Linked DNA regions of Homo sapiens: region 2 is linked to region 1. Evidence: promoter capture Hi-C in human tissues and cell types (Jung and others, 2019). All regions are on one chromosome and are shown on one strand. Each heading gives the region's core, a stretch centred on a gene start or on the middle of the fragment in contact. The rest is flanking DNA. Distances are from core to core; before and after follow the strand shown. Region 1 holds the start of NRG2 (neuregulin 2). Region 2 has its middle 13 kb from the start of CXXC5.

Region 1 (5,153 bases), core at 2,516-5,015:
AAACCCAGTCTCTACTAAAAATACAAAAATTAGCCAGGCGTGGTAGTGCGTGCCTGTAGTCCCAGCTACTCGGGAGGCTGAGGCAGGAGAATTGCTTAAACCTGGGAGGCAGAAGTTGCAGTGAGCTGAGATCACACCACCGCACTCCAGCCTAGGGGACGGAGACTCTGTCTCAAAGAAAAAAAAAAAAAAAAAAAAGAGGCCGGGCTCAATGGCTCACACCTATAATCCCAGCACTTTGGGAGGCCAAGGCAGGCAGATCACCTGAGGTCGGGAGTTCAAGACCAGCCTGACCAACATGGAGAAACCCCGTCTCTACTAAAAATACAAAAAATTAGCCAGGCGTGGTGGCAGGCACCTGTAATCCCAGCTACTTGGGAGGCTGAGGCAGGATAATCACTTGAACCCGGGAGGTGGAGGTTGCAGTGAGCCAAGATCACACCATTGCACTCCAGCATGGGCAACAAGACCAAAACTCTGTCTCAAAAAAAAAAAAATAAGAGAGAGAGGGGAAAATAATATTTTTATTCTTCATGACATGTGCTGTTGAAAAATTGTATCGCCTTTTTTTTTTTTTTTTTTTTGAGACAGTGCTCTGTTGCCCAGGCTGGAGTGTAGTGTCATGAGGCTCACTGCAACCTCTGCCTCCTGGGTTCTAGCATTTCTCCTGTGTCAGCCTCCCAAGTAGCTGGGATTATAGGGGAGCGCCACCACGCCTGGCTAATTTTTTTTTTGGTAGTAGTAAAGATGGGGTTTCACCATGTTGGCCAGGTTAGTCTTGAACTCCTGACCTCAAGTGATCCACCCCACTCAGCCTACCAAAGTGCTAAGATTACAGGCATGAGCCACTGCACCCAGCCGCATTTTTTAATATACAGAAAATCCTAGTGAATATTTTTAATATACAGAAAATAAATACCACTTAGAGATTCTCAGCTCTTAGATTGGGAACCACCAGTATAAGTAAAATATTAGTAATCTTCAACTTTAATTTTGGCCCTTACTGTGCACCAGACATTGTTCTAAGCACTTTACATATTATCTCACATAATCCACATCCTCATCATCCTTCTAGTCTCAGCTTAAATGTTATCTCCTCAGAGAAGCCTTCCCTTATCCAAGTAGACCTATCCTCTCCCCTTTCCATTATTCTCTAGCATTTCATCCTGTTTATTTCCTTCAGGACACTCAGCAATACAAGTAATTAGTTACCCATTTGTGTACTTATTTACTGTTGTCTTCCCAGTCAGAGTATGAGCTTTGAGAGCACAGACATGTACTATTGAACAGTTTGGTTCACCACAGTACATCCAGTAACATACAGTGCCTCAGTGCTTGGCACAGAGGAGCCATTCAATTGAATATTTATTGAAAGTACATACTGAGCAAAAAACAGCTTTACGAAGTAGACCCTATTATTTTCTCCTTCATACTGATAAGGAAACTAAGGCCTAGAGAGTGAAATAGACTCATCCCAAAGTTGGTAAGTCACAGAGTTGCTTTAAAACCCAGCTCTGCTGGGCTCCAGAGCACAAGCTCTTCACTATGACCCTGGTCTCAGGAACAGAAGACTGAGTTCAGTCCTGGCTGTGTGAAATGTTGAGTAAGTCCCCTATCCCCTCTGGGACTTTTTCTTTCATTGTAAAATGAAAGAGTGGATGTCGCTATCTTCCTTATGGTGATGTTTTGTGATTTATGAGGTCTGTGATCTATGAAAATGAAATGGGGGACACTGAAGGAGCCAAGAAGATTGGCTTGATGCCTTTAAGCGTGCCGATTTTCAGTTATTTTCTTCCTTCTCTCCTTCTTTCACTGGAGATTTGCTAATCCTTATTTTATGCCAGGCATTGTGTTGGAGGTAATAGGAATCCAAAGATGAATAGGATATATATAGTCCCTGACATTAACGTGCCTGGCCTGATGGGAGATGCAGACCCATTAAATGGCTGCTTGAAATACGGTATGGGCCAGTATCCCAACAGTAATACTATGTGTGAAGCTCATGGCAATACAGAGGAGGAAGGGATTAATTCCATCATGTATGTGTTGGTGGGAGTAGAGGTGGATATGTAGGAAGGGGGATGCGGTATAATGCTGAGCTGGGCCTTGGGAAAATAAGTTTTCCATGTGGTCAAGGTGGAGGTGAGGCTTTCTGGACACAAGAGACATCATGTGCAGAAGCACACCAAGAAAGAGCATGAAGTGCTGAGGATTGCTAGAGTGGGGGGTTGGCTCTCAGGATATGAAGCTGGCTAGGCAAAGGGAGCCCATGAAGAGCCTTGCTGAGGAGTTTGAACTTAACTTCTGAGAGCAGTAGCATGGCCAAATTGTACTTACATTTTATTTTTAGAAGGATCACTCTGGCATTGGTAGGACTGGAGATAGGTGATGAGGTGAAAGGAGTGGAGACCAGTTAGAAGGCTTAGAAGTTGTCCAGGTGAGAGATGATGAGGGCTTGGACTTAAGGTATTTGCAGCAGAGTTGGAGTGGAAGTAGATAAATTGGAGATTATTTTAAAAGAGAGACCCAAAGGCCTTGGTGATTAATTGGATGAGGAAGAATAAAAGATGAGATGAAGGGACTTATTGTAATGGATTGATGTAGTCTAAAAGAATAAAACAGTGGCATTAATAATTATAGGGGATTTGGAGTGAAGTGGAAGAAATAATGATGTTGGCTTTGGATGTATTGAGTTTAAGATGTCTCTTAGCTAGGAGGAAAGGTGTAGCTCTCTCTACTTCCTTTCCAGAATAGCAGTCCTAGCCTAAGTCACTCATCCTTGGACCAGTTTCCTGTGGAGCCCAGTGCGGTATAAAATTCCCCAAGAGCTCACTGGCATTCCTGAGCTCCACATCCTTCAAGGTTAAAAGCTGGGTGTTGAAAACTCCCTGGACCCTCATTGATAGGCTAATGGATTATGGACCTGTGTGTGTGTGTGTGTGTGTGTGTGTGTGTTTTAAATCAGATGCTGGCTCCAGTGCAGCAAACTCTTCTGCCTCTTGCAAGCATCAGCCTTGGAAACAAAACAAAACAAAACAAAAAAAACCTTTTTTATGGAGCAGCCTCTGGCCCTGACAGGCTCTGGCTCTCTGTTGGCTCCCAAGAAGCCCCCCACCTTTCTTAGAGATCAGATTTTTAAAAGATGAGGTTGTACAGTGCTCAGCCAGATCCCCACGTGGCCGCTGAAGAAAGCCCAGAGTGTTGGGGACTGGGCCCTTTCTCAGCTACCACCTCTGCTTGGGTGTCCTCAATGCTAAGACAAGACACCTTGTGGCCCAACTCTTTCCAAAATGACGGGGCTGGGATTCTCCCCCACCTCAAGTCGAATATCCAGCGTTCACCAGGCGGTGGCAGGACCGAGCACGTGGTATCATTTAGGGGCTGGGCTCCAGGGTCCTCCTAGGAAAGAGGACAGCCCAAGAGGCGAGAGGCTGGCCGGCCACCCTGGCCATGGCAACCTCTCTGGCTCCTACAGCTGCTGGCCAAAGGCAGGGGGCACGCCCTGCGTCCCATTACCACGTTCATAGGATGGTGCCAGGAGCCCGTTATCTCTTCTTCGCCTTCTCCTCACGCACCACCCCCACTGTCATGCCGATAAATCCCGGGAGCAAAGGGTGGCACGATTCCTCCCGCGCCCCTGCGGGCTGAAGGCGGGCACTAAAGCAGTGCAGTCCCAAGCTTCCCCTGCAGAAGCCGCGCTCCCTACTCGGTCCGGGGGCAGAGGGGGCGCGAGAGAGCAAGTGGGCGGGCGTCCCATCCTCCGCATCCTCCTCCAGGTCCTGGCGCACAGGGTGGGAGCGCTGCGCTGCGCCGCGCTGCGCATCGCGGCCCGCTTGCCGCCTGCCCCCTGCCCTAGCTGGGCCACCTCCCCGGGCTGCCGGTGGAGGGCTAAGAGGCGCTAACGTTACGCTGTTTCCGGTTTTCCAGCGGGCTCTGTTTCCCCTCCCAAGGCGGCGGCGGCTGAGCGGCGGAGCCCCCCAAATGGCCTGGCCAGATGCGGCAGGTTTGCTGCTCAGCGCTGCCGCCGCCGCCACTGGAGAAGGGTCGGTGCAGCAGCTACAGCGACAGCAGCAGCAGCAGCAGCGAGAGGAGCAGCAGCAGCAGCAGCAGCAGCAGCGAGAGCGGCAGCAGCAGCAGGAGCAGCAGCAACAACAGCAGCATCTCTCGTCCCGCTGCGCCCCCAGAGCCGCGGCCGCAGCAACAGCCGCAGCCCCGCAGCCCCGCAGCCCGGAGAGCCGCCGCCCGTTCGCGAGCCGCAGCCGCCGGCGGCATGAGGCGCGACCCGGCCCCCGGCTTCTCCATGCTGCTCTTCGGTGTGTCGCTCGCCTGCTACTCGCCCAGCCTCAAGTCAGTGCAGGACCAGGCGTACAAGGCACCCGTGGTGGTGGAGGGCAAGGTACAGGGGCTGGTCCCAGCCGGCGGCTCCAGCTCCAACAGCACCCGAGAGCCGCCCGCCTCGGGTCGGGTGGCGTTGGTAAAGGTGCTGGACAAGTGGCCGCTCCGGAGCGGGGGGCTGCAGCGCGAGCAGGTGATCAGCGTGGGCTCCTGTGTGCCGCTCGAAAGGAACCAGCGCTACATCTTTTTCCTGGAGCCCACGGAACAGCCCTTAGTCTTTAAGACGGCCTTTGCCCCCCTCGATACCAACGGCAAAAATCTCAAGAAAGAGGTGGGCAAGATCCTGTGCACTGACTGCGGTGAGTCGCCCCCTCCCTTTGCTGGAGAAAGGGGGGAGGGGCGAGGTGGTGGAGAATGGGGGTGGGGCGGGGAGGTGCTGCAGGTGCCCGGGCCTGGCAGCGTCCGGGCGCTGGGGGGGTGGGGCCGCCCCTGGGCAGGGCGCCTGGCACGGGTGGGTGAGGGGGTTGGGGTTGGAGAGAAGAAGGATCAGGCTCAAAGTGTGCCAGGGGTGGGGGGCGGAGGGAGGCGCTGGCCTGTGCCAGCGGGGATCTGCGGCTGATGTATGGCATGTGGGGCTGGAAAGCTGCCATCATAGCCCAGTAGCGGAAGGAAAAACGGAGAGGTCCTGGCGGTGCTGGCCTGAGGCTCAGTGAGTCAGGAGTGACCCTCGGAGGCCTTGCCTGCCCTGCTGCCGCGGGCCTGCCGTGCCCAGGCTGGCAGGGTCTGCGGGAGCAGCTGGGCAGACTCCCAGGCTGTGA
Region 2 (5,152 bases), core at 2,058-4,557, 410 kb after region 1:
CTCGGGTGTGTGTTTGGCTTTGCGAAGTGCTCAGAAAGACGGTAGCATCCTGGGTGGAGGAGGCGCAAATAATCCCACACAGCAACAGTTCCAGGACACCCGGGGCAGCCTGCGGACTCCCCCCGACGCCCCCCCAACCCGTCCACTCGGGGACAAGTGGTTATTAGGTGGGGCTCAGGAGGGTGAGGGTGGGGGGCGAGGTGGTGTCTGTGCCGGGAGCCCAGTCCCAGCACACCGGCCGGCTGGGGCCAGAGATAACCGGCGCCTCCCGGAAAATCATTAGCATCTGTTTGGGCCGCGGCAAAGTTGGCCTGCTGGCGCCTCCGCCCGCCGGAAACAGCCCCGCGCCCCCACCAGGGCAAGCGCAGGGCGCACCCGACACAGCGTCCCTCCCCATACCCGGCCCAGCTTAAACTCCTGTGGTGACAACATCCACCAGCGCTGGGAAGGGGGCTTGGGTGCAGAGGCCTAGGGCGGGCAGGCCGGCAGACTGGGGTCGGGCCACGCCATCGGGGGCTTCCTCGCGCGGTGTGGGCGGTCCAGCCCGAGCTCCGGGCGATCCAGGCCGGCTCTTCGAGGCGCCCGCGCTGGCGGCAGCCCAGGGAGTGTGTGGAAATGACACCGCCAGGGCGGCGGAGATCCCCCCTCCTGACATTGGCTGGAAAGTGGAGCAGCTCGTCAGGGACAATCAATGGCGATCGATCGCCGCGCGGCGCGGGCGGACGGTGCGGGGGAGGGGCGGCGGGGCCGGCAGGGGTGGGGGCACCCGCGGCCGAGGTCAAACAACACACTGACCCGCAAAGGGGCACAGCGGCTGAGGGGGGGGGGGGTGTCACACGGACACACAATTTGTGAAAGGAAGCACCACCATAGGCCACCCACACCACAAAGGAGGCACGCTCACCACACGGAGTGACACCACAACAGTCTCTGACACAAGTCAGAACAGGACACAACAGGGTCAGACACACCTAATGATACAACATACAGTCACACTATTCACAACCAGTTCACCATACCACAACAGATGTCCCTACACTAGACACCTACAATATCACCGGGACACAAAATGAGTCATATAGTAGCTGGTCTCAACCACACAGCAGTAGGGAGTTACATACTTTGGGTGCACAACAGTCACACAACAAAGCAAAAAAGTCATATAGTCATATCATCCATCACCACTACCTCAAAGAACATTGTCAAATTAGGTCTCTACGTTGTACAACACAATGGTGCCCATACTGGCAAAAGGATGGGACCAGGAGCCCAAGTATAGAATATGACAGGGGCAAATGCTGCCATAAGTTGCACCCCAGTAACTAAGAGAGGGATAAAGCTGTTTTGCATCTTCCAACTTGAATAAAATTATACCCCACCCAACATGGCACAATAAACAAACACCAGGCAAACCAGCATGAACTTGCAGGGTTCTGACAGGACTAAATGAGCCACTGCAGGTGAGGTGCTTAGCACAGCACCAGGCACATGGTAAGCACTCGACACACAGGTGGTCTTGGTCATTGCTAATGGTTCTATACTACTAAGTCATGTGTATATAATAATGACTGTAACTACTTAGCATCATTCTCTCCATGTTAGTCCAGTCCCTTCCAGGAACCTGATTCACCCCAGCAGCAAAACTAGTTCTGCCATCACATACACCTGGGAAACACAACTCAAGTGTTACAAACACAATTCACGGTGCTGCACTCACCCACAGAGAGGCCACATTCTCACTTCCCCCAGTATACAACCACACCCACCCCAGAATCCCCTCCACAGGGGGAGCAGGCTGTGCTCATGCAGCTGAAAGCTCTGGCTCAGAGACCTTGGTGGGGAAACCACCCCTAATCTCTCACCAGGTGCAACCCAACTAGTGTGCACTGCTACTGGCCCCATTTCCTGCCACTCTCAGAAAGCTGTAGAACACAAAGCACTTCCCTCCTAAAGGTCACCCACCTAGTTACAAAGGGACCCAGAGCCTCCCAAATAAACTCCTTAAGGACTATCCCTTGTCAGTCCCCCTTTCCATTTCTCCATTTCCCCCTAGAGAAGCTGAAGCACCAGTTTCAGTCCCCAGAAAGGCTCTCCCCATTCCAAATCCAAAGCAGGAAACAGGGCTGGCCCCAGAGCTCAGCAATCTCCCCACTCCCATTCCCAGTGGTGCATGTGTGTGGGAACAGGGCCAAGATTCATCAGTCCTTCAGCACACCCTTAAAGGCCACTCCTGTGGTTCCAGTGCAAGGCCAGCTGGGCTGTAGCCCTCACTTCCTCAGTTCAGGCCTGGGCCCACCCAAGGGCTTCCAGGAAATCTCTTGTAGCCAGGGAGCTCCCCCTAAAGGTCCTGTCTAGAATGACTCCCCACATTCCCTAGTTTTGCCTGGCTGTGTGACCTTTGTTAATTCCCCAACCTCTCTGTGCCCAGATCCCAAGTCCTGCCCACAGATCCAAGACACCCTTCAACCCCCTCACAGAGGCTCTCTTTGACTAGGGAGAGAGGTGTGGGCCTGTGACCTAGAATGTGGAGAGGAAAGATGCTGGCTGTAGGTGCCACAATCACCCAGTCATTTATCCCTCTCCCTTCCCCTTCAAACAGAGCTGGGAAACAGCTGGGGGAGATCTGGCCTCCTTCCACAGCATACCCCTCCTCCGTGGCTGGAGGCAAATCCTCCCCCAACCCCAGGCTTTTATTCACCAGGCAGGACAACTGGATTCCCTTTTGTCCCCCAAGGTAAGGGGAAGGACAGACAGACACTGGGCAAGGACACACAGTCTGGCTAGCCATGGCCATTATTCTGCCTGCTCACCCTGTTTGTGGGCACACTCTTGCAGGCCTTAACAAGTGGGCATGTGAGCCATAGGCTGCAAAAGGGCCCAGCCAGTCTTCCCCAGGTCCCTGGATGTCCCAGGAGCTAGCCCAGCTCAAAGGAGGGCAAACCTCTAGCATGTACAGGAATCCAAGAAAGATGTCTCACTGTCCAGGCCTACCTCCCTGAACCATAAGCACCCACGGTCACAACCCTTTAATTTGATAAGGTCATTTTCCACCAAGCATTGCCTATGGGTCAGGCTGGTGACCAAGTGCCCGTTTTCTAGATGAGAAAATCAAAGCAAAAGACAGATAAGTTTATTGCCCAACTGAAAACCCATGGTCTTGTGATTCAAACCCAGATCTGATCCTGTTCTTCAAAGGCTACAGAGCCTTCGTGTTTATGCATCACACCCTGATGCATAAACACTAAGGAGTGTACATGCTCACAATTCTCACTCTCAAGCTCCTGAACACATGTGCAGTCCCCTTCTGCACACACACATACAGGCTGGCCTAAGCTCTCCCATGCCTGGGGCCTGTCAGCCACATTCTCCATGGCTCCCTCCTTCTAACAGGGACAGGGACAGGCAGGGAATCTAAATTCCCGGGTTTCCGCCCTGACCCTGACCCCACTCCTTTCCCACTCAGAGAACACATACCTCCTGCTACAGCCAGAAAACCAGCCCCAGAGGGAGGCCTGGGGGAGAATAAGCAATTCTGGGGGCCAACTGCCTAAGCTCCAGTTATTTGCCTGGGTTTGACATAATAGGAAGTCAGCAGCTTTCCCTGCAGGTAGCTCCCACCCTCTAGCGAGGCTAGACCCAAGGCTTCCCTCCTTATTCCAGAAACTTTCTTAGTTGAGATTCCTTTGGATCCAGCAAAATCCCTCACATGATTAGGCACTACAGCAGGACTCGTGGAGCTCTCAATACACCGTTCTCCTTAGAGTCTATCAGTAGGCAAAAGCTTAGGTTCTAGGTACCAACAGCACCCAGGCAGCTTTCCCCATCTAGGGGCAGTGGTAGCTAATTCTCACAGCCCTGCCTGGGGCTCCCAAATAAACTCCTTGACCTGGGAATTTAGATTCCCTGCCTGCCCCTGTCCCTGTTAGAAGGAGGGAGCCATGGAGAATGTGGCTGACAGGCCCCAGGCATGGGGGGCTCAGCCACTTGGTGGGCTCAGCAAATCTGGAACATTTGCATATCCAGATGGCCAAGCCTTGAATTTCAAAGATTTCCCCATGAAGAGGCAGCTGGCTTCCGGGTGGTGGCCCTGGACGCTCACACCTGTTGGGCTGGAAGACTGAGGAGACCAGGGCCCCAAAATACAAGATAAACTTGAAACAGACAAGAACATTTCCCAGGCCCTATCACTAGCCCCCAACTCTGCTCCTTCTGTCCCCAGGCCTCCATCTTCAAGGTCTAAGGAGCCATGTGCTGGTTGCCCAGGGTAGGTGGGCAGGCAAGTGATAATGGACTGCTGCCTCTGTGACCTGCTAGAAATATGGGATCTCCTTGTTCACATGCAGCAATAGACAGATCTTTTCCTGCATGTAACCTGGAGCTAGGTGGGCAGAGGTCCTAACCTGGAGCCTGGTTCACCTATTCACACACAGAGACATGGCTGCCATAGCAACGGGGAGGGCAGAGGGGAGCTGGCAGCTTGACACTTCCAGTAGGCTTTGGGCTGAAATACAAGTCACTAACCTTTTCCTTCACTGTAAGGCTGAGAACCTGACTGAACTTGGCACTGGCCCATCTGATTCTGGATATACCACGCACAAAGCTTAAGTCCGAAAGAATCTCCCCACTCCAACAAAAGCCCCTCTCAGGTTGTGCCCATGCAGATTCACTGACCACACGCCTCACGGTTGTCACAGCTATGGGTCACCACTGCCCTCTGCTGGCCACTCAAGGCACTAGCATCCACTCAGACACCAAAGCCATCATCTCACTCCCCACATAAGCAAACACACTTCAGTCATCACCTCCATCTGTGGGCACTGAAATGCAACTCCATTCAGCCGTCCTCTGAGCCAGGGGGCTGACAGGAGACAGGAAGAACAGGGACCACCTCAGGGACACAATGTATTAAGGAAGAAATCACAAAGGAATTCTGCTCCCTCCAATATACATCTGAAACTTCAAAAGGAAGTGCCCCCCGCCCTTTTTTTTTTTTTTTGAGTCAGAGTTTCTCTCTTGTTGCCCAGGCTGGATGCAATGGCGCGATCTCGGATCTCGGTTCACTGCAACCTCCACATCCCCGGTTCAAGAGATTTTCCTGCCTCAGCCTCCCAAGTATCTGGGATTACAGGCATGCACCACCACGCCTGGCTAA

What was found. The method cuts DNA at HindIII sites, captures the fragments that hold promoters and counts their contacts. A contact is called where the count stands out against the background at its distance.
Region 2: a fragment that was not itself captured here is called in contact with the fragment with the promoter of NRG2 in region 1 in 2 of the 25 tissues and cell types used here (dorsolateral prefrontal cortex and lymphoblastoid cells).

Annotation. Positions count from the first base shown.
Region 1 is chr5:140,041,911-140,047,063 of GRCh38, reverse strand. It overlaps NRG2 (neuregulin 2), which reads left to right and starts at 3,765. Exons shown (of 10, transcript NM_004883.3): 1 at 3,765-4,694. The coding sequence starts at 3,995. RefSeq lists silencers at 3,623-3,962, 4,123-4,332 and an enhancer at 3,631-4,300. The HindIII fragment of the contact is 7,156 bases long and covers 1,209-5,153 here.
Region 2 is chr5:139,633,032-139,638,183 of GRCh38, reverse strand. No RefSeq gene overlaps it. Among named protein-coding and RNA genes, the nearest start is that of CXXC5, 13 kb to the left of the region's middle. RefSeq lists silencers at 257-676, 926-1,220, 1,667-1,886, a cis regulatory region at 1,696-2,531 and an enhancer at 4,566-4,860. The HindIII fragment of the contact is 7,601 bases long and covers 1-5,152 here.